7 separate regions of the Homo sapiens genome follow, and all the other regions are linked to region 1. Evidence: promoter capture Hi-C in 16 types of primary human blood cells and fetal thymus (Javierre and others, 2016). All regions are on one chromosome and are shown on one strand. The core of a region is centred on a gene start or on the middle of the fragment in contact, and the rest is flanking DNA. Distances in the headings are between cores, read along the strand shown.

Region 1 (3,260 bases), core at 527-3,026:
GACTATTAAATAACTCCAATAAAAACGACTTCAGCAGAGAGGGAAATGAAAAAAGATTTGTCATATTTTCCCCCTAAACATTCACTGGAAATTAGCAAAATGTAAGATTATAATTATGGCCTTAATCAAGAAGAAATCTGACTATACACCTTTTATTATTAAAGTTATAAATTTCACCTGCTGCCATTTTTAAACTAGCATGTTTAAAAACAGGCTACAATTAGAAATTAAACAGGCTACAATTAGAAATAGAATTTTTCTGTTAGTTTGTGAAATTAAACTTTCTATAAAATTTGACCATTCTATACTGTTTAATCATGTACATGCTAATAGAAGGAAAGCATTATTATTCACAGCCTTAATTTTTTTCTTTATTATGTATTTACTTCTTAAATTGACAAAAATTGTATATATTTATGTGTACAACATGATGTTTTGAAATATATGCACATTGAGGAATGGCTAAACTAAGCCTTAATTTTGACAGTTATTCACTATAAGGCTTTTTGGTGTCACTGCGATTATTTCAAATAATTATTATTTAAACAATCAGTTCAGTTTAACGTAGGAACAAGAAAAAATGTTTTACTTTTGATAATGTGTGATATACAAGAAGAAAAGTGTATGTCATTATTATTTATCCTATTAATACATTTCTATCAATGAATTATAATTTCAGTAATCCTTTGCTCACCCTGCAAGGATGAGCGTGGAGAAGAAGAGTGGAGAAGTAACCCACAATGTAACTTAATTTCCCAGCGAGAACCTGAACCCTTACTAAAGTCCCCAGTAGTAGTCAGCCAACTGCAAATTGCTGTGGGAATATTTACAGTAACAACTATTAGGAAACATGCAGTATTTTGTTTGCCACGAAGCCAACTTAATCTTCAGTGTCACAATGCAAGTTAAGATTTCCTAAATATATTTTTAAAGATTTTCTATGATTTGTTTCTCCTAAGTGAATAGTGAGCTTAAAAGACTGAAAGCGAACTTGTCCTTATTTCACTGAAGTGTGTCATCAGACTTCTGATCTCCAAGCCTGTAATTGATACGTGGCTGTTACTAGGCAAAGTCCTTGGCTTTTCAGATGAAGGTGAACTCACACGTATGAACACTTGGGAGTTTGGGGAATCCTGACAGAGATAACACACACCAACGCTCACATCCACCACCAACAACCCGTCTACCCTGACAAGACTGCTCTCCGCTTCTCGCACTGGGCTCCCAGGAGTGCTGCTTAGTTTAAAGAGGAACCGAAAAAGTTTCTCAATGTGCGAGCCCAGTGTGTGGTCAGCGAGCGCCGGGGCGTCGCGCTAGTCCTCTCGTCCCCCGCACAAACCCCCCCTTGGATCAGGAAAAGGCGCTCACCGTTGTGCTCGCGGTATCCCCAGCTGAGCCTCGACATGGTCCCTCGGGGTGGAAGGAAGAGAAAGATGTGACTGAGCAGCGAGAAAGAGGAGGGAGCGGGGAGGGGCCCGGGAAGGAGCCTGCTAGGGCGGGACCGCGGGGCGCCGGCGGCAGGAGTGCGAGACCGTGAACCCGGTCCGGGGCGCTCCCGCCTGCGTCCTCCAGACGGCAGAGGCGTGCGGGGAAGGCGCCCGCGCCGCTGGCTGACTCCTGGGGCGCGAGTCTCTCTTAGTTTGGACTCGGGAATGAGAGATTTGAGTTAGAGGGAGAGACGGAGAGAGAAAGGTTTCCGGGGGGGATCTCCTGCCTTCTGAGGAGTCGTCACTCGGGAGAGGAAAGTGTTGCCTAGAGGACTTCCAGGAAGTGAATGAGTCACCAGAGCCTGGAACTGCCAGGCTGGGAGGTGGGGATCCCGGTGGAGGCGTAAAAGAGGTCGGTGATGGTCGTGGCAGTGATGATTACAAATACAAAACAATAATGACGATGGTAATCACCACCACTGAAAAATAACTACTTATTAAGGGCTTATCGTGGGCGAGGGTCTTAGCTAAGACGTGTACCCACGTTTTCCCATTAGATCCTCTCAGCATTTCCTCGAGAAACACGTGGCTTAAGTTAGAGACACTATGTAACCTGCCCCGGGTCGCTCAGCTAAAGCGGGCGGGGTCGCTGTTAGAGAGGACCAGCTCCCGGTCCTGGGCTGGCTCCATTGCCCATTCATCCTTTCCTTACCTCTTCTCACTCTGCAGGCTTGTGGCTTGGTGAGTGAGGAAACCAAAACCAGTTGTTGAGATTTGGTCCCAAAATTCTGCTGCCCTCCTGACCCCGCAAGAAGGGTTTTCAGGACATCTGCCCTGGATTCTTGGTGGGCTTGTTACCCTAGGACTGGAGTCAGAACTAGCTGCAGAGTCTTGAATTTCTGGCCTGGAGTCGTGAATGTTCTGGGTTCAAAGTGAAAAATAAAAATTGGGTACATGAACCACTTTCTACGTCCTTGTCTCGGGTCAACTGCCTCATATTTTATAAATCCAAGCAACCTCTTTGTAAGGAACCTAGTAAACCAATTTTCAGTAACTCGGATGATTTGGTATGTCAAGATGAATAATGCTCTTAACGTTCTAAGTAAGTATCAGTTCTTGACACCCAATAATAGTGGTTACATGAATGGATGAATGACTGAATAGACCAAAATTGTTAAAGAAATTTTGGTTGGTGGGTCTCAAATACTTCCCAAATTGTTACTTTTATTGCTTGGGTACACAGTTTGTAACCACCCAATGGGTTTACCTTGCCCACTGTCAAGACACAGCTGATTTATCAAGACAGGGGAATTGCAATTCATAAAGGGAAATTCACGTAGAGCCGGCTGTGCAGAGGACTGGAGTTTTATTATTACACAAATCAGTCTCCGCAAGCATTGGGGATCAAAGTTTTTAAGGACAATTTGGTGGGTGGAGGAGAGCCAGTAAGTCGGGAGACCTGGTTGTTTGGGTCAGAGGTGAAATCATAGGGAGTCAAAGCTGTCTTGCATTAAGTCAGTTCCTGGGTGGGGGCCATGGGATCAGATGAGCCAGTTTATCGAGCTGAGTGGTGCCTGCTGATCCATCCAGTGCAGGGTCTGCAACATATCTGAAGCACTGGTCTTAGGCTTTACAATAGTGATGTTATTCCCAGGAGCAATTTGGGGAGGGTCAGAATCATACAGCCTCCAGCTGTATGACTCCTAAACCATAATTTCTAATCTTTTGGCTAATTTGTTAGTCCTGCAAAGGCGGTCCAGTCCCCAGGAAAGAAGGTTTGTTTTGGGAAAGGGCTGTTATTGTCTTTGTTCTAAACTATAAACTATGTTCCTC
Region 2 (3,260 bases), core at 322-2,821, 880 kb before region 1:
TGGGCCTGAGAGAACATTTAACTTGGTGATGACAACAGCTTCACTGTGTACACACATTGTGACTAATATTTGGCTTGATCACAGGAGCTACATCCCTTTTATTGTTTGTTTGTTTGTTTATTTATTTATTTTGAGATGGAGTTTCACTCTTGTTGCCCAGGCCGGAGTGCAATGATGTGATCTTGGCTCACTGCAACCTCCACCTCCCAGGTTCAAGTGATTCTCCTGCCTCAGCCTCCTGAGTAGCTGGGATTACAGGCACCCACCACCATGCCCGGCTAATTTTTTGTATTTTTCGTAGAGATGAGGGTTTCACCATGTTGGCCAGGCTGGTCTCTGCCCGCCTCAGCCTCCCAAAGAGCTGGGATTACAGGCATGAGCCACTGCCCAGCTTTATTTTATTTTTTTAGAGACAGGGTCTTTGTCATCCAAACCCAAGTGGCGCAATCATAGCTCACCACAACCTCTAATTGCTGGGCTCAAGTGATCTTTCCACCATGGCCTTCCAAAGTGCTGAGATTACAGGCATGAGCCACTGTGCCTGGCCCAGAAAGCCACATCCTTTTATCAGGCCTTGATTGCTACAGGTTTCCTTTCTACCTAGGAGGCCAGATCCACATCCTTCATCTGCAACATGTAATCTAATTCTTAATGACAACCATTTTGTTTTAGGTGACCAGAGAACTATGTGAGATGTTGGCTAGGTAACAATTATACATACAGAATGTACAAGGATAGGGACATATAATGCATGTTCAGGCTGGGAGCTGTGGCTCATTCCTGTAATCTTAGCACTTTGGGAAGCCAAGGCAGGCGGATCGCTTGAGCTCAGGAGTTTGAGACCAGCCTGGGCAACATGGCAAAGGTGCCTCTCTACAAAAAAGACAGAAATTAGCTGGGTGTGGTGGTGACTGCTTGTAGTTCCAGCTACTCAGGAGGCTGAGGTTGCAGTGAGCCATGATCACACCACTGCACTGCAGCCTGGGTGACAGAATAAGACCCTGTCTCAATTAAAAAAAAAAAAGCATTTCAGGGGTCATTGTTCATGGAAAGGATCGGTGTGTGTGTGTGAAAGGCACCTTTCATTTACGAGTTTCATTGAGGAATTAAATAATTTATAAAAGTACACCAAATATATTTCACACTTTTTCAATGTATGAATTTTCAAATGAAAGTTTTCCTTGATTACATTGGTAAACATTTTTTGTTATACTGTGGATTTGTTCAATCCAGCACTAACCACATATGCTTACATGGGGAAACCCTGTCATATCGCGTGATTTCCTAGTCAGCTGAATTTAGAATATCCCCATAAACATTCTTCTCTCTCTTAAAATTTCACATTTTTGGTAACATTTCTTCCTTCTCTGAAGCTTCCCTTTTTTAAATAGAGGAAGTGAAAATTAAAATAATTTGAAAAAGCAAACAATTTTGCTGTCACACTTGTTTTTCCTTGAAGCAAAATAAAATACTGAAAAGTTACTTACAAGTCAGCATTGCCATAATAGCATATTTTAGAACAAGAATGCTGATAACTTTGCATTTCCCAAGCCCTTGGTTGCTCTGGAATTTTAAGAAACCTCTTCAGTATTTAAGATTCTCTACAATCTTGGTCTAACCCAACTGTTTAGATTAAAAATTCTTCAAACTTAACTTGTCCTTTTCTACATTAATGTCTTGGTTCCTACCCTTCTCCAGAGGTATAAAATTTCCCTTCCTTACCAATCCTTTAAGGCCATATTCTAGTATCATATTTTTCATGAAGCTTTTCAATTGTCTCCAGCTAGAGGTGATATCTTTTTTCTTTCTAAATTTCTGTATTTATATTTATCCTGGGGTGAAATAAATTTTCTATATACATTGGCAGTAGCAGTGATGAACATAAGGACTAGTTAGCTCATTCATTCACAAATATTTAATACATATTTAGTGTGACATAAGGCTTGGATTCCAGTACTAATTCTGCCACTGTAGAGCTGTGTGCTTTTGAGTAAGTCGTTTTACATGTTCATTTCAAACATAGTTATTTACAGATAATAAATAACTATAGGGGAGTGGGAGAGGGAGAGCATCAGGAAGAGTAGCCAACGGATGCTGGGCTTAATACCTAGGTGATGGGATGATCTGTGCAGCAAACCACCAAGGCACACGTTTACTTAAGTAACAAACCTGCACATCCTGCACATGTACACCTGAACTTTATACTATATACAAAAAGATATATATATATATATATATATATATAGGCTGAGCACGGTAGTTCACGCCTATAATCCCAGCACTTTGGGAGGCTGAGGCAGGTGGCTCACTTGAGGTCAGGAGTTCGAGACCAGCCTTGCCAACATGGCAAAACCCAGTCTCTATAAAAATACAGAAATTAGCTGGTCATGATGGTGCATGCCTGTAATCCCAGCTACTCAGGAGGCTGAGGCAGGAGAATCACTAAAACTCAGGAGGTGGAGGTTGCAGTGAGCCAAGATCACACACCTGCACTCTAGCCTGGGTGACAGAGTGAGACTCTGTCTCAGAAAAACAAATAAGTTAATGAATTAAATTAAGTAAATAATACATAAATTAAAAATATATTAAATAAAATATATCTTTATATATTTATGCAAAAATTATAATAGATTACATTTTAAAAGGACAAATTGTGGACAATACATGTATGATCTCACTGTTCTAAAACAAACAATAAGCCCAACTATGCATATTTATATTTGTGTTTAAATATAAACACATGCACATATAAAAAAACATTTTTCACAAGGAAAAAGTTTAGAAAGATATGCATGAAAGTTTTGAGTGGTTACCTCTGGGCTCTGTGACATGAATTCTGAAGTATAGTCTTTACTCAATCCATCGTCTTATTTCTAAAAAGCCAACAATACTAGTACCACTCCATAGGGTTGCTGTGAAAATCTATTAAATTTAATACAGGAAAGTGATTATAAAGGTACTAACTTGTGTAGTGAGCACAAAATACATTTTAGTAAAAAACCTCTTTCATTTTTTAAACACACGTGCTTATTTTCAGTTAAAAAATAAACAAGTTAAAATAAAACTAGGACAATGGATAAGTGTGGATTTCAGTCTCCATCCTGAAAATGAAGGTTATGGGACAGTCTCAAATCTCTTAAACTAAACAACTGGGGAAGGAGTAGTGTTTTGGAAAACAGGTTATTGGGATCAATATCGCCTCCTGGTGGTTGATTGATGCCTTGCCATACAGTTGCCCAAGCCCACCTTGGTACTGATTT
Region 3 (3,260 bases), core at 513-3,012, 860 kb before region 1:
TATTCCAAACTGTAGGATCACTACCAACTAAATCACTTTAATAGGTGCCACACAGCAATAGAATAAAAAAAATAGATTACACCATTTTAACAAATAGAGTCTATCACATAGTGTGAATGTGTGCCTGAATGTATGCACTGAGTCATAATATAAACATGCGTTTTCTGTGGGTTGTGGTCACTGCATGAAGGGAATTATCTGAGATCACTTGGCTATAGGGAAGTTAGACTTCATGGTTATTGTCTACTAATTTGTTGGCAGACTATTTTTAGAAAATTCCTTTTTGGCTGGGCGTGGTGGCTGATGCTTGTAACCCCAGCTACTCTGGAGGCCGAGGCAGGAGGGTTGCTGAGCCCAGGAGTTTGAGACCAGTCTGGGTAACATAGGGAGACCCCGTCTCTACTAAAAATAAAGAGAAGTGACTATCTACTGTTCTATCCAAGCAGCCCCCTGCCTTTCCCCACACTCTGCTGCTGCTGAACTTAGGGAAATTATCTGAATTTTCCGAACTCAGTTTCCTCATCTACAAAATGGATATAGTCTACGCTTTCAGGTTGTTTTGGGGATTAAACAAGGTTGTCTGGTACAGTGGCTCACGCCTCTAATCCAAGGGGTTTGGGAGGCCAAGGTGGGAGGATTGCTTGAGGCCAGGAGTTTCAGACTAGACTGGGCAACATGGCAAAACCCCAACTCTACAAAAGAAAAAAAAAGTTAGCTGGGTGTGGTGGCACATGCCTGTGGTCCCCATACTCAGGAAGCTGAGGTGGGAGAATTGCTTGAGCCTGGGAGGTGGAGGCTGGAGTGAGCTGTGTTCAAGCTACTGCACTCTGGCTCAGGAAATAGAGTGAGATCCTGTCTCAAAAAAGAAAAGAAACAAACAAACAAAAAAAGATGATTCAGGTAGGTAAAGAGCCAGCATAGAGAATCCACCACAAAATATTGTTTTTTCAATTGTACCCACCTATCTCCAAAATAAATTGCTAAGGAATTCAGCTTTTATCCTCTAAACCAGAATTTTTCCAACTAACATATTGGAATCAACCATCAAATCTGGTAATTACTCAGACTTTTAATAAATACACCGGAAGATGTACAACCAGACACTTCTTTCTCCATTTTTGCTAATATATTGCCGTTCTCAGGGTGTTGAAACTTCAAAGTCCTCTTTGGTGCTTTATTACTCCAAATGCCCTGCATTTCTTCCCTGATTTCTGCTGCTCACTCCCGTTTTGAATAACATCTGGCACTTCGATTACTGCAGCAATCTTTGAATCGATTTTCCCAGGCTCATTTCTCCTCATGTGCTCCCCGCCTCAAGTTTAATCTTTCCTAAGAATTGTTTTGGTACTGTAATGATCCTAAAAATAGCTTGCAGCCACTGAAAAGTTTTAGGCAGATTAAAAACAACTTTTATAAAATTTGTAGAGCGTTTTACCATTGCCAGAATGGTTTTAGTATACATAATCTCTTAACTTTAACAATAATCCTATTTCATAGATGAAGAAACTGAGGCTCAGAGAAGTAACTTGTTCCTGTTTTCCACGCTGGCAAGTAGTTAACTGAGAATCATACCTGACTCTTGTCCTCATTCAGTGTTAGCGTCAGGATCTTGAAACTTCAAATCAAACCTTCAAGGTTTTTCAGAGTTTTCCCAGCCTGAATTCCAGCCTTCTCTCCAAGTATTCTAGTATTGCAGCCTAACTGATATACTCCCCATCCACAGGCTTTTATTTTTTCCCTTTTTAAATTCATTTGTTTTATCTGCTTGCTGAATGTCCTGACATCTCAATTCTTCTCCTCCTGAAACCCCATTTCATGGCCTTTTATCAATCTATTATTCAAGATTTGGTTCACCTTCAAGTATATCTGCTATCAATAGGTTTGAACCATTTTTGGATTCTGAATTTTTATCTCATTTTACTTATTTGTGACATCCTATCAACTACACAGTTGTCTAGGTAGTAAATGGTGTCATTTTTTTTTTAGACAGATTCTTGCTGTGTCACCCAGGCTAAAGTACGGTGGCATAATCATAGCTCACTGCAACCTTGAACTCCTGGCCTCTAGCAATCCTCTTGCCTCGGCCTCCCAAAGTGCTAGGATTACAAACATGAGCCACTGCATCCAGCCTGTTCTTTTTTGTACTCTCCACAGCTCCAAATGCATTTTTTTGCCACATAAATGAGCCTCAAATATTAATTTGTGATTAAAACTTAAGATCCATGTAGCAGTGGCCCCACAGAACTTCATTATACAGTCCAGTAAATCTTACTAGGGTTGAAAATCTTCATTTTAATTTTTACTTACCAAAATAAATATTTTCAAAACTGGTGCTCTCTGAAGAACAGAATAAACTAAATGGATTCATATCCAAATGCCACTATCCAAAACCATAAAATGGAAAGAACTATTTCAGGAATTCCAAAGTCTAGCAGAAGAGGGAAAACAAATTCTTGTTGTATGTAAACTACAGTGCAGGGGTGTATTGTTAAGATTTACAATTTACAAAACATCTTCAGATATTTTGGATCCTCCCAGTGAACTGGGAGTTAGGCCACGGAGATACCATCTAAAGATGAGATAAGAAAGCACTTATCAGTGCTCACGCTTGTAATCCCAGCATTTTGGGAGGCTGAAGCAGGAGGATTGTTTGAGGCCAGGAGTTCAAGACCAGCCTGGGCAACAAAGTGAGACCTTGTCTTTGCAAATGACAAAAAAGTTAGCCAGGCTTGGTGACATGCACCTGTGGTCCCAGGTACTTGAAAGGCTAAGGTGGGAGGATCACTTGAGCCTAGGAGATTGAGGCTGCATTGAGCCATGATCACGCTACCCACTACTGCATTCCCTGGCTTGGGCAACAGAATGAGACCCTGTCTCAAAATAAAAAAATAAAAATAAAAAAAAAAAGCACCATGTTAAAGGTTAAGCACTTGCTTAGAATCCCAGAACCATAAAGCAGAAGATCCAGGACTTGAACCCAATATGTAGATATTTCCAGTGTGTATTTTCAGATTCTTACTACATGCAAAATACACTCTTAGGCTTAGGGAGGTAGGAGAGAGAAAAGTTTAAGGTGTACTTTCTGCCTTTAAGAAGTTTACAGGCAGCCAGGCACAGTGGCTCACGTCTATAATCCCAGCACTTTGGGAGGCCGAGATGGGCAGATCACGAGGTCAGGAGATCGAGACTATCCAAGCTAACACGGTGAAACCCCATCTCTACTAAAAATATAAAAAATTAGCCGGGCGTGGTGGTGGGTG
Region 4 (3,260 bases), core at 310-2,809, 820 kb before region 1:
AAAAGGATATACTTATGACCATTTTAACATTTCAGAGCTTAGTGGAAGTCCTTGAAAGTGAAAGTTTCAAATGCACAGGTACTTAAATTTTGTCTCCAGGCAAAGTATTTACATCAACAACACTTCTAGTTAATAGTTGGGGCTTTCCAAAAGAGAACTAATCAGTGGTTTCATCAATGTTTTCATTTTTTAAGGGCTTTAAAATCAGCGACTGTGTTTTCCAATTTTCAAGGAACATGGTTTAGACTTAGTGGGAGGCTTGTGACAAAGCTTTCTCTGCTGTGCGGCCAGCTGCAGACAGGACAGAAGAGGTTTCTGCAGCCTACTATGAAGGCCCTCACTGCTGGGAGAAGGTGGACAGGCAGAGGGACTGCCTGCCTCGTGGAAGTGTCTGGCGCCTTCACTGCTGCCCAGGTTTAGGTTTTATAGCAGATGCTTCCTATTTGCTGTGCGATCCTTATGCAAACAATCCTTACAACAGGCTCTCTGAGGAAAAAATTTTGTGTTTTTTTGAGTAGTACCTTAACATCTGACTTCAGTTTGTTCCCTTTATTTCTCTCTTCCATTCTGTTTATACTGTTAGGTTGGTGCAAAAGTAATTGCAGCTTTTGCCTTTTGAGATGAACTCTTGCTCTGTCACCCAGGCTGGAGTGCAGTGGTGGCGCGATCTCAGCTCACTGCAACCTTCACCTCCCAGGTTCAAACAATTCTCCTGCTTCAGCCTCCTGAGTAGCTGAGACTACAGGCACGCACCCCCAGGCCCATCTAATGTTTGTATTTTTAGTAGAGATGGGGTTTCACCATGTTGGCCACAGTGGTCTGGAACTCCTGACCTCAGGTGATCCACATGCCTTGGCCTCCCAAAGTGCTGGGATTACAGGTGTGAGCCACTATGCCCGGCCTTGCCTTTACTTTTAATGGCAAAGACACAATTACTTTTGCTCTAACCTAATAGATAGCCTATTCTGCAAATTAGTTCAAAAGCTCGAGACATATAAGAACGAGTTGTTTACCTGCTTAAAATAAACCTTCTTTCCTTGTTTCTTAGTAGTTGGAGAATTCTGAGGGTTCTTTAGGAAGAAAAGTCCATTATTTGGTAGTTATGCTCTCTTTGCAGGATGAACTAATTTTCCCTCAGCTATATGCAAGCCGTATTTTAAATTTTCCATCAAAATATAGCTCTGGGAAAGTTCATGACTAATTTATTCATCACAGACATTCCCTGTTAAGCCAAACTACAAATTAAATGAAATTAGAAAGGAAATTACACAAATTGAAGTAGCATTGGCCTGGAAATCGGGAAGCAGCCTCCAGTTCCGGTTCTACAACTTGGGAGGCATGTGATCTTGACTTGCTTGGTCGTGACTGGATTTCATTTCCCACACATCATTTGTGTGTGTGTGTGTGTGTGTGTGTGTGTGTGTGAATGAATATAATTGACAAATATCAATGAAATCTAATCAATATAGTGATATAATCAATATACATTTATCAAAATGATAAATATTTATAAGTATTATAATACTGTGTGTGTATAATATATATACACACATTCACATACATGTATAATATGTATAAATAATACAAGAATGAAATATATAGAAAATGTAAAGTTACCATACATAATATTTATATTTATTTATATATATTTATATCTATATACAGGTTTTCTCACTATATTTGTATATACGGGTTTTGTATATACACTGTATATGTATATACAGGTTTTCTCACTGTATTTGCTTAGGGTGTTCGTCTGGGTTCTAGACATCTATCGTGGCCCTCAGTTTTTCTCTCTTAGATGGATTACCCGGAAGATGAAGGTCATGAGTGCCAGACACAGGCCTTTGTCATCCGTTTAATGCAATAGAAGGCAGTGAAGTTATACTTTAAATATTATAAGCTCTTAGAATTTTAAATATATATATATATGTATGTTTAATGTTCATGTCATCCGAATATGAGCTCAGCGAAAAGTTCTTTAGAGGGACGATATCCTTTATACAATCGTATAATTTTATATGTTCACTTTGTCAGGTTAGAGATGCAGAAAGTGAAGCCCAGACAATTAGGCGCAGGTTCTGCCTGTTGGTTGACTTTGCTTTCATCACGTCAGATTACACACACAGACGGTGACCAGCGATGATCCAGGCGTCTCGGTCGTTAGCGGGTATCCTGGGGGCTGTCTCCCTGACCACGACCCCCCAGTGGGGTTTCTTTCCGAGGGTCCCGCCCCTCGCAGCTGCTCTTTGATAAAGGGCGGAGGAACGGGGCTGGCTGCTTCCCGAGTCCCCAGGTCCCGCGAGCGGCGGGCGTGTTGCGGGTATGGGGTGCGGCGCCAGCAGGAAGGTGGTCCCGGGGCCACCAGCGCTGGCTTGGGCCAAGCACGAAGGTCAAAACCAAGCCGGCGTCGGAGGCGCGGGGCCTGGGCCCGAGGCGGCGGCCCAGGCGGCGCAGAGGATACAGGTGGCTCGCTTCCGAGCCAAGTTCGACCCCCGGGTCCTTGCCAGGTAAAGCGCCACGTGAGGAACTGGCCTGGGACTGGGCTGACAAAGAAAAACCCCTGGCCAAGACCGCCTCGAGGTTCCCTTCAGCTTGACTCAATTTTGGACAGGGTTCTTTCGGATGATAGGCACTGATCTCCCCCTTTCTCTGCCCTTTTGAGATGTAAATCTTCTACAACCCAAGAGTGTCTTTTTCAGGCACCTGGCAGCCATCCCTTTGAAATGTAGTCATCAAGAGAGTTAGGGCCACTGTCTCCCAGTCTCTGTGGGAGGGCAGGAGCCTAACTTCCATAAGGGCCAGGTAGCAAACACAGATCTCATTGACCACCTCTCCCTAAGCTTCTCCCATTCTTTTCCACTGGCTCACCCCAGCGCTTAAAAACTTTCTTGCCTTTTGTTTCGAAGGCGTCCATTTTCTTTCCCCTGTTGCAGAAGCCTCGACTCCTATTGCAATAGTCTGGGATAAGCCTTCCTTGCTGTGTTCCATAAGTGCCCAGTACAATTTCTCTTTGACATCTCTGAACAGGGAGTTCAGAGGATGGGAAAAAAGAGAGCAGGAGCAGCAGCAAACAAGGGAAGGAATTCCTATCTTCGGAGGTGGGGGGTGGGGGTGTGAGAGGACTGTCTGCCAACCTCCAGCATCTGCGGTGGAAGACGGCTTTGCCTCTAATATCCTGGGGCTGGGTCCTGCCAGACCTGGTGTGTGAAGGATCTTCCACTAATTCTAAAAATTGGGATTACAGCGAGTGAACTAGA
Region 5 (3,260 bases), core at 348-2,847, 810 kb before region 1:
ACCTATGGTTTCCTAGTTGTTTTTGGTTATATAGCACTATTAAACATTTGGGGGCATGCACACTCCATTTTTATTCATTAATAGATATGTACGTGTATGTATATTAGTCTATTTTATACTTTACTAAACATAGATGAAAATCAATTTTAGATTAATAAAAGAAAAATAAAATAGTTCATTTTCTTTCTGTAGCTGCCCTTTTCTAATGTGAAATGTGAAATTGACTCCTAGATACTCTCCAGTTGTCCTTTATGGCTCAGGAATTCTGCAATTTATAACTCATGTTTGAATAATAAGCTTTGGCTGAAGAACTTTTTCTCCGGTTACTTTATTTTCTTCAACTGCATTTTAAACGTACAATCATTTGGGGTCATCTTAATAAGCTCTCCATAAACCTTGTTGCACATATTTTATACTCTTTCAGAAAGATTCAGTTGCTTGTCTTAAAATGTTCCAGAGGAGCCATCTAATTTAACCTTCATTTAAATAGTCTTGAGCTCAGATAGATTTGTCTGGATTCAGGGCCAAATAGATGTCTAGCCAGAACCAGAGGGCATGGCATTGTGAGTGTCAGTCACTGATGTGCTTTTTCTAGACTTGCAGAGTTTATATTTTGTTTTTCCTGTGTTTGAGTATTTGTCAGATATGCTTATTTATTTTATAACTTTTATTTCTGGGATAAATATTTCTCATGTCTCATTTACCTAAATACACTGAAGGAAAAAAAAGAAGAGTTCTTTTACTGGTTTCTTATTATTCAAATTCTGGATTAAGGCGGGGGGCAGTGTTTACGCCTGTAATCCCAACAATTTGGGCGGCCGAGGCAGGCGGATCACCTGAGGTTAGGAGTTTGAGACCAGCCTGGCTAACGTGGCGAAACCCGGTTTCTACAAAAATGCAAAAATTAGCTGGGCTTGGTGGCACATGCCTGTAATCCCAGCATGTGAGAGTGAGGCACTCTCCCAGCATGGGAGAGTGAGGCACGAGAATCGCCTGAACCCGGGAGGCGGAGGTTGCAGTGAGCCACGATCATGCCACTGCACTCCAGCCTGGGCAACACAATGAGACACCATTTCAAAAACAAACAAACAAACAAATTCTGAGTTAAGTTGGCATGGGTGGGGGTGGGAGTGGGTCTGCAGTCACAGTTACTTGGGAAACTGAGGCAGGAGGATGGCTTGAGACCAGGAGGAGTTCAAGTCCAGCCTCGGCAATATAACAAGACCCCATCTCTAAAAAAAGCAAAACAAAACAACAAAAAACAAAACATAGAGTTAATAGGGTGCTAAGAGATTGGAGAATGTGATGTCTATGTATGGACTCTGCTTTATCGTTACACAATGGCAGAGACAATACATGGAAGGATTCCCTTATCTTTCCTTGGAAATACCATCTTTTAAAAACACACATCAATTAGAAATTGTGTTTGAGATACAGCAAACGTATGGGCAATTTTCTCAATGTTTCTCTTTTGCAGAGGACAAAGGACACTAAACTGTAGTGTTTTCCGGGTATACGGTATGTGCTGGTAGAGTCAACCTACAGGATGAGGCTGAGGCACAAAATATAGTTTTTAAGAGCTTGTCTGATCAGGCCAAAGTGGGGACAGCTGCTCTGGAAAACGTCCTAACTTCTGTGGGGCGTGTGCTCTTAGGTCTGGGCTGATACAAAGTTGTTTGAGAGGAATTAACACTGGTTTACATAAATAACATTGATTAGTGATTGGCTATATTGTTGAACTGTGGGGTATGAGTGATGGTGTCCAACCTATGGCACTTTATGGCTACTTGGTGTTAGATAGCGTAGAGCCCACATAGCAAGTGGCTTCAAGAGGTAATTATTTAGCACAAGAGGAGAATGAGAAGTGAAGGCTGTTATATTTCAGTGCCTCTCTTGGCCTGATAATTTAAAGGGGCTTGCATTCCTCAGATTAAATTGTTTCTTTTCTTTCTCAGCAGATAATGCAGAAAGCAAATTTGAATATAAAGCAACAGCCTTCTTATTCCCATGCTCAGAAATGCCACTATGAAGTGCTGCTATTGTATTTAAAGTATGTGCAATTGCTGTAAACACTGCCACTATAAATCCCTGAAATAGGAACTACTTAGCTGTGCATATTGTACTGTGTCATAGCTGTTACGTGTTGAATCTATTTGTAGTCAAATCTATTTGAATCTATTTGTTACATGTTGAATCTATTTGTTCTCAGCTGATTGGGAACAGTGAGGGCCCAGTGTGTTTGAGGAAGTGCACTTCACTTCCTTCCTTCCTTCCTTCCCTCCCTCCCTCCTTTCCTTCTTTCTTTCTTCCTCTTTCTCTCTCTCTCTGCCTTTCTTCCTTTCTTTCTTCCTCTTTCTCTCTTCCTTTCTTCCTTTCTTTTTCTTTCTTTTCTCTTTCTTTCTTTCTTTCGTTTCTTTCTTTCTTTCTTTCTTTCTTTCTTTCTTTCTTTCTTTCTTTCTTTCTTTCTTTCTTTCTTTCTTTCTTCTTTCTCACTCTTTCTCTCTCTCTCTCTCTGCCTTCCCCTCCCCTCTTCTCTCTCTCTGCCTCTCCCCTCCCCTCTTCGCTCTCTCTCTCTCTCTCTCTCCTCTTTCTTTCTTTTTAGAGACAGGGTCTCACTCTGTCACCCAGGCTGGAGTGTGGTGCTGCCATCATAGCTCACTGCAGCCTTGAATGCCTGGGCTGAAGGAATCCTCCCACCTCAGCTTCCTGAGTAGTTGGGATTACAGACATGTGCCACTGTGCCTGGCTAATTTTTACATTTTTTGTAGAGATGGGGTTTTGCTGTGTTGTCCAGGCTGGTCTCAAACTCCTGGACTCAAACGATCCTTCTTCCTCAACCTCCCAAAGTGCTGGGATTACAAACGTGAGCTACTGTGCCTGGCTCAGAGTAAGCTTTCAAAGGGAGGGAAAAGTTGATGATTTCTCAATCCATTCCACTTTCCCCTTCTACTCCTTCTCATTCTTGAAGTCACAGGAACTCTGTGAGATGACCACAGTGTTGCAAACACTGACCTGATGTTGACATAGTTCGTAAAAGACAGCTGCTTTGCCTTGTCCAGCTCCCGTAAATGCAGTATGGGAACTCGTATTGATAACAACAGCACAATGGACAGATTTCTGAGAAGGTTTTCTCACTCATTGGACAAAGAGTTTGGAAGAGAATTTCTGTGTTTGTGTTTGTCTTTTTCTTCTGTGAAAGTTTTTTCTTTTCCTCCCTCAAAAGTGGTTTAGTTCCTCTATATATGTAATGACACAGTATT
Region 6 (3,260 bases), core at 514-3,013, 780 kb before region 1:
TCTAGAATTATCATGCTTTTGAAAGAGTGGGATGTTTTTTCCCACTAGCTCAGTCCACCATATGGACTGGAATTCCACTTTTACCATTTGAAAAAGAAACCCAGCATTGAGAAAGATAAATTAGATGGAGGTGAAGTGAGTGATGGCTGTTCTTGTGTGGGTTGTGGGGCTTGGCATCTTCCAAGCCTGCCTACACAAATGGAATATTGTCTGCTGCAGTTGTATGGTCCCAACGACAACTTTGCTCTTTTCTTCCGGATAAAGCAATCTGTGGCTCCCTAGAATTCCCACCCTGTCTATGAATGCAGCTTGGCAGATAAGGCGGGTTTTGTGCCTCCCTCAGGGAATCCCCCTCCACAATTCTATCCCCCATCACTGGTGACATGACTTGCTCAGTTTGGCCAATGCCCTTTGTGAGTCCCTGGAGTGTGATCCTTGCTGCTCCCAGCCCCACAAGAGCTCATATAAGTTGCATTCCAGATGTTTCCAACACATTCTCCATTACTGCCACACACCCAGGGCACAGGGGCCACTAGCCCCCACCCCCACCCCCACTCTGCCCAGCCCTCACTTGTTATCTCCCGGCAATCTAATCCTTTCATATCCTGGCCTCCAAAAGCTATGAAGCTAAACAGAAATTGCTTTTTAAGAGTTTTACTCTTGTGTTGACTTCAAAAGCCAAACTTTACATAATATTTAAAGAGGTTTATTTTGAGCCAAATATGAGTGATCATGGTCTGGGATATAGCCTCAGGAGGTCCTAAGAACGTGTGCCCAAGGTGGTTGTGTTACAGCTTTGTTTTACTCATTTTACGGAGACAGAAGTTACAGGCAAAGACATAAATCAATATGTGTAAGATATACATTGGTTTGGTATGAAAAGTCAGGACATCCTGAAGTGGGAGCTTACAGGCTACAGGCACTTTCAATGATTTTCTGATTGGCAATTGGTTGAAAGAGTTAAGCTTTGCCTGAAGAGTTGAACTCAGCAGAAAAAAATCTTGAGTTAAGATAAGGGTGGTTGTGGAAGCCAAGTTTCTTGTTACATAGAAGAAGCCTCCAGGTAACAGGCTTCAGAAAGAATACATGGTAAATATGTCTTACATGATGGACCTTAAAAGGTGTCAGACTCTTAACTGAAATCTCTCCTGGATCTGGAAAAGACCTAGAATGTAAAGGAGATTCTCTACAGAGGTGGCTGGAGTGCAGAGAGGGCGAATAAAACCAGCATAGCTATGGGTACATTGAGTCTGCTGGCTCTTCATGTGGGCGTGCCAAGAGTCTTTGAAAGGCTGAAGAGGCGCAGCTCCCTTGCTTGCATCTTCCGCTTTGACTGCTCCTCTCTGACTTACAGACCACTTTGCCCCGTGCACCAACTCCAGGCCTTCTCTCTGCTCAGGACTCCTTTCTCCTCTTTAGCTCCTTGACTTCACTCCCCAGTGTTCCATACATGATGGACCACATGTATTCTGAGAAACTGAGATTCAGATGGATTCTTCATGATTTCATAGAACCAATCAAGACCCAATTGGAATCACTCTTTTCAGCCTAGCTCTCTATAGTCACTTTTCCCATAATTCTTTCCCACAGTTTTTAAGGCATAGCAATAATTAATCTTGATTAATAGCCAACTGATCAAGGAGTGTGTTTAAATGTAGTGAATATTTTCTTTAAATAGAAATTTTAAAAGGTGAGTTATGTCCACTGTCTTAGGAAACAACTCTATACTTTAGTAGTCATGTCTAGAAGCCAAGCTAAATATACATCTGGACCATACAAAATTGAGCAGCTGGTTACTATCTTATTCCAGAACATTTTCTCCTCTCTTTCCTGGTTAACTATTGCTCACTTTTTATGTCTCAATTTAAATGTTGTTTTCTGAGAGAGACTTGATTGGAATCCTTAGTCTCTGTTTTTGTTTGTTTGTTTGTTTTTGTCCAGAGCACCCATATTCACTATTGCATTTGTACAGTTGGAATTATATATTGGTTTGAATGATTGCTAATTGAGCCCGTCTTTTCCTCTAGACTGTAAAGTCTATGAAGCTCTTATTTCCTCAGGATCTCACACAGTGCTTGGTACCTGGAAGGCACACTAAATATTTATTATGTAAAGACATTAATGAATCTTGCTCCTTTAAGAAATTATTCTGCCAACTAACAGCTACGGTTATAGGGAGAAATGGCTCTTTGGGAGTAGCGCAATATTTGAAAATACATATTTGACTCCACTCAAACCCACACAGCTCAAGACCAATTTCTTTATTAGCCAAGAAAATGTCTAAGTTCTAATTATTAATTTGTAAGTGAGTGCCCAGTCATCAGAGGTTGATGATGAACTTGAAGCTGAAAACTAAATAGAATTTAAAGGTAACAGGTTGGTTGAACCTGGGGTGGGAAAGAAAGCATCTGTTATTTTGTGTATGTAAGACTTTATGTTTCACAAGCATAACAGAGAAGCACATGTTGACAGAAGGAAATTGAAATGCAGAGAATAGCAATTGCAATCACAGTTTTCCGTTGCAGGGCTTACAATATTGCCAATATTTACTGACAAGCTTTTGGGACAATAAATAACTGAAAAAATAGTGATAATAAAGCAAATAAGAGCAATACTTGTGATATTCAAGGAAACACGCAATAGTGCAGACAAGAGTAATTCACTCTCCCTAGGCGAGTCAAGTAAGGCTATAGAGAGAAGGTGACACAAACTAGGTCCTCAAAGATGAGTAGGGGCTCACCACCTGGCAGAAAGAAGAAAGAGAATTCTAGGAAGAAGAAATGTATGCATATGGCATGATGATGTTTGGGAGCACAGCTTATCTGAAGATCAGAGAGACGTTGAGTGTGAAGGGGTAGGGGCAGGTGGTGGGCAGTGATAAAAAGGGAGGCTGGGAGGTGAGGCTGTGGCTGGCCTGGGAAGAGCCTTTCATGCTATGCTTTCAGGGATGGCAGTGGAAAAACAGTTTACATTACAAAATAGCATTGCAATTAACTACTGTCTGGAAGAGGATATATTTTCTGGCTGGCATATATCTTCCCTTTTGAGGTTTCCACACTGGAAAATAAGGAAGAGAACCATTTAGCATAAATATGACTGCATTTGTTACTCTGGCCATTAAAAGAGTCTCAAATGCTGTAACCAATGTTGTGGTTCCTCAGCAGAGTTCTGGGATGAGACAAGTAGCAGTACGGCACAGCAGTTCAGAACATAGAAGTTTGGCTTTAGATGATCTGAGTTTGAATACTGGCTCTCTCTTG
Region 7 (3,260 bases), core at 454-2,953, 730 kb before region 1:
AAATCTATAACTCTCATTTTTTATTTTAATTTTTTTTGTTCTGGACATTTCTTTCAGTCGTTCTATTCAATTGTGTACTGGTTATTTTCTTGGCCTATTGTGAAGCTGTTATTCTGAGGCTTTTTCTTTTTCTGTCATCAAGAGAATTCTGTTTGATGTTCTTCTATGTTGAATCTCCTTGTTTTCGTTTTGGAACTTGTGTCTTCCTTTTTCTGGGTTTATTCCCTTATTTTGATAGTGAATACCCTCAAGTAAACTTCTAAGAAAACTACAGATTTGGAGCTTCAAATGCCTTGGTGAAGTTTCTAAGAACTTGGATGTCTAAAAAGGTATTTATTCCACCATTGCTCTTGATTAATAGCTTGGCTGGGTATGGAATGCAAGATTGAAAATCTTTTTCATAAAAAATTTGACAATGTACCCCTATTTGTTTCTAGTTTCTAGTGTTGCCTTAAGACTATGATATTATTCTTATACCTGATCCTTAATAAATGATCTTTTTGTTCTCTCTCAAAATTTTGGAATCTTCTCTTTATTCCTATATTCTGAAATTTCATAATGATTATCCCTGTTTAAATCATTTTGTTGTTGTTGTTCATTATAGTGGGGACTCAGTGGGCCTTTTAATCTGGATTTCAAGTCTTTAAATTCTAGGATGTTTTGTGATTTATTCTTTTGATCATTTCTTTTCATCTGTCTTCTTTCTTCCCTATGGAACTTCAATTATTAGATATTTGACTTCTGTATCACGTTTCTTTATCTTTGAGCCTTTTTGTTGAAATATTTTTCTGCTATAATATTTTTTATTTTCCAAGACCTTATACTTGCTGTGTTCCTTAATTCAATATCCAGTATCTCTCTGAGGATACATATATATATATATATACATACATATATATACACACACACATATGTATGTGTGTGCGTATTTGAATAGTATATCATTGACACGGTTTTACATGGTTTATGTATGTATGTCCATGTAATGTATGTCTGATAAATAGCATATAAATCAAATTATTGTGAATGTTAAAAATGGTTTTAAAAGTATTGTCAAGCATTTCCGATTTAGACAAAGAGAAACCTTCCAGAACTAACTTAATTGGTTAGCTTAATATAAGAAAACATTTTCTTTTCTATCTGTGATAAAAGCTTTGTTCTTTTAGTAACTTGTGGTTCAAAAAGAGCAATTATAAAAATGGCAAAGCCATGACCAATCACAATCTCTCCTTTGATGAGACTGTGGCTGATGCTCTATACCAGTGATCCATGGATTCCCTGCTTGATTACACAGGTATGTTTCAACCCTGCAGTGAATCAGTGTATATTGTTACTGACAGGCTTTAATCTGGAGATATGTGATGATACAGCCTCATAGCTCTCTGTAACTCTCTTAAGGGGCCCACATCAAAGGGAACATTGTGGTTATGGTAATTTTAAAATGTCTATTGGTTTGTACCTAACAGATAATAGGATGTACCCTGTTCCACTCTACGATTTTTTCCTTTTAAATTTCTCTTACTTTCATCTTCTAGCGCATCTGGATGCTCTGCATAATTGAAGAACTACTCTTGTATCCACAATATACTTGATATTTCAGATCTGGCTGCTTTCCAAATGGCAGACTGGTTTTAAAACTTTCAGTAAAATTTAGTTAAATGAACCGCTTTGTGTTGATATAATAATAACGATCTCTGTTAGTGGTCATTGTTTATTGTCTTTATTGAACTCTGTATTTTTTTTTAATTTTCCTCTTCCAACATGTAAATCTCCATTCTCAGATAATTGCTTACCCCTGCTAAAGTAGTTCCCTATATTAATTTTTCCCCATTTAGATTACAAACTTCTTGAGAAATCAGACTTGATTTAAAAAAAAATTGCTGTATTCCACTAAACAAAAGACCTAATTGATACGTTCTGTTTCCCATTTTGCACAACCTAAAGACTTCTTTTCCTTCTTTGGTATATTTTCCTAAACTTCTGAGGCCCCAGTTTTTTAGACAACATAGTGCTCCTTGTATAGTAATGCTGGTGTTCCTCACCATTATGTGAGGATATCACCCATCAGAAATGAGAAGGGTTTAGACAGCTGGGGTTTTCAATGTGTGTGTAAGTGAGTGTGTGTATGTGTGTGTATGTCTGTGAGTACATGTGTGAGTTTGAGTGCATGTGCATGTATTCTGGTCATAGAGGCACAGCTGGAGATTCCATTAACCTCTTAGTCACTTGCACAGTATGCAGAAGTAGAAGCTTGCTTCTGAGTAGTGTCATTTCTACTCATAGGCTCCTCTGCTTCTGCATTCTTTGAGGAAGCTCCAGAGAAACCTGAGTTTGAATCTTAGCTTTACCACTTACTAACTGTGTGCTGTAGTTATCTATAATAGCAAGATAATATTTTTCCCTTATCATAAGAGTGATGTGAAGCCTAAATGAGGTCATGCGTATAAAGTGTTCAGCATGAATGGAACCTTAACAAACCCCCAACACTTTGTTAAAGAAATGACATGCTTTTTCTAGGCTATTGCTCTGGATATAAAGCAATTTTGAGAAAGGTCTTACTTGGACTCTTTTTGGTGTCATTTTCAGAACAGGGCAGGAAATTATCCAACTTGCAAGAGAATGCTAGCTGAAAATCGTCCCATCTTATGGAAAACCGGTAGAAAATCCAGGAGGTGAAATGGAGAACATGTTCAACTGGAGAATTCTATTTCTTATGCATGTCAAATATGTTTCCTTCTCCTGCACTAGCTGTTCCTTCTGCTGGAAGAATATTTATATGACTGGCTAAACTTACTGTTCAGATCTGAGAGTAAATTTGCATTTCTCAGAGAGTTAGTTCCTGACCACCCAACTCAAAGTACTAACACTCTATCTAGTCCTTTTCTTGTTTGTTTTTCATGTTTATTTTATTTCCCACCACTAGAATCTAAGCTTTTTGAGAGCCGGCACTTTGTCCATCTGGGTCACTGAATCCCAATGAGTTATTCACAGATGTTTTTAGTACATAGTAGGTGAAATGCATAGATAATATTTCAACTAAGAAAGTGAACAGAAGAAAGTTGGTCATTGACTTATTACTAGTAGCTCACTACTCTCTATGTATGAAGACATCACTTACTGATGGTTATGAAGCAGATGCTCAATAATTTTTTTTTAATAAACAGGAGGGCAAGGAGCCAATGTCGTTTGTAGTGGAGGGTAGTCATGGACACTGAGAGTATGTTTTAGACACAATTTATCAATGGCCAGCCTCAGGCTGA

The links. Contacts are between HindIII fragments. The CHiCAGO score rates a contact against its expected background, and 5 or more counts as called.
Region 2: a fragment that was not itself captured here is called in contact with the fragment with the promoter of CA13 in region 1 in 4 of 17 cell types (monocytes, M2 macrophages, M1 macrophages and 1 more); the score reaches 9.3 in monocytes.
Region 3: a contact is called between a fragment that was not itself captured here and the fragment with the promoter of CA13 in region 1, in 3 of 17 cell types (M2 macrophages, monocytes and M0 macrophages). The highest score is 10.9, in M2 macrophages.
Region 4: a contact is called between a fragment that was not itself captured here and the fragment with the promoter of CA13 in region 1, in 1 of 17 cell types (M2 macrophages). The highest score is 8.2, in M2 macrophages.
Region 5: a fragment that was not itself captured here is called in contact with the fragment with the promoter of CA13 in region 1 in 3 of 17 cell types (M2 macrophages, M0 macrophages and monocytes); the score reaches 8.9 in M2 macrophages.
Region 6: a contact is called between a fragment that was not itself captured here and the fragment with the promoter of CA13 in region 1, in 6 of 17 cell types (M1 macrophages, M0 macrophages, neutrophils and 3 more). The highest score is 8.9, in M1 macrophages.
Region 7: a fragment that was not itself captured here is called in contact with the fragment with the promoter of CA13 in region 1 in 7 of 17 cell types (M1 macrophages, M2 macrophages, total B cells and 4 more); the score reaches 12.0 in M1 macrophages.

The regions. Positions count from the first base shown.
Region 1 is chr8:85,243,974-85,247,233 of GRCh38, reverse strand. CA13 (carbonic anhydrase 13) reads right to left here and starts at 1,776. Exons shown (of 7, transcript NM_198584.3): 1 at 1,369-1,776. The coding sequence starts at 1,405. RefSeq lists an enhancer at 972-1,081 and a silencer at 1,442-1,521. The HindIII fragment of the contact is 11,713 bases long and covers 1-3,260 here.
Region 2 is chr8:86,125,222-86,128,481 of GRCh38, reverse strand. The region is part of intron 2 of ATP6V0D2 (ATPase H+ transporting V0 subunit d2); the gene reads right to left. Among named protein-coding and RNA genes, the nearest start is that of ATP6V0D2, 28 kb to the right of the region's middle. The HindIII fragment of the contact is 392 bases long and covers 1,376-1,767 here.
Region 3 is chr8:86,105,759-86,109,018 of GRCh38, reverse strand. The region is part of intron 1 of ATP6V0D2 (ATPase H+ transporting V0 subunit d2); the gene reads right to left. Among named protein-coding and RNA genes, the nearest start is that of ATP6V0D2, 8.5 kb to the right of the region's middle. The HindIII fragment of the contact is 3,923 bases long and covers 1-3,260 here.
Region 4 is chr8:86,068,688-86,071,947 of GRCh38, reverse strand. It overlaps PSKH2 (protein serine kinase H2), which reads left to right and starts at 2,280. Exons shown (of 3, transcript NM_033126.3): 1 at 2,280-2,510. The coding sequence starts at 2,326. The HindIII fragment of the contact is 2,573 bases long and covers 273-2,845 here.
Region 5 is chr8:86,048,900-86,052,159 of GRCh38, reverse strand. The region is part of intron 2 of PSKH2 (protein serine kinase H2); the gene reads left to right. Among named protein-coding and RNA genes, the nearest start is that of PSKH2, 19 kb to the left of the region's middle. The HindIII fragment of the contact is 2,595 bases long and covers 300-2,894 here.
Region 6 is chr8:86,027,812-86,031,071 of GRCh38, reverse strand. No RefSeq gene overlaps it. Among named protein-coding and RNA genes, the nearest start is that of PSKH2, 40 kb to the left of the region's middle. The HindIII fragment of the contact is 1,592 bases long and covers 968-2,559 here.
Region 7 is chr8:85,975,116-85,978,375 of GRCh38, reverse strand. LOC107986954 (a long non-coding RNA gene) reads left to right here. Exons shown (of 4, transcript XR_001745984.1): 2 at 239-329; 3 at 1,167-1,294; 4 at 2,587-3,260. Among named protein-coding and RNA genes, the nearest start is that of PSKH2, 93 kb to the left of the region's middle. The HindIII fragment of the contact is 1,098 bases long and covers 1,155-2,252 here.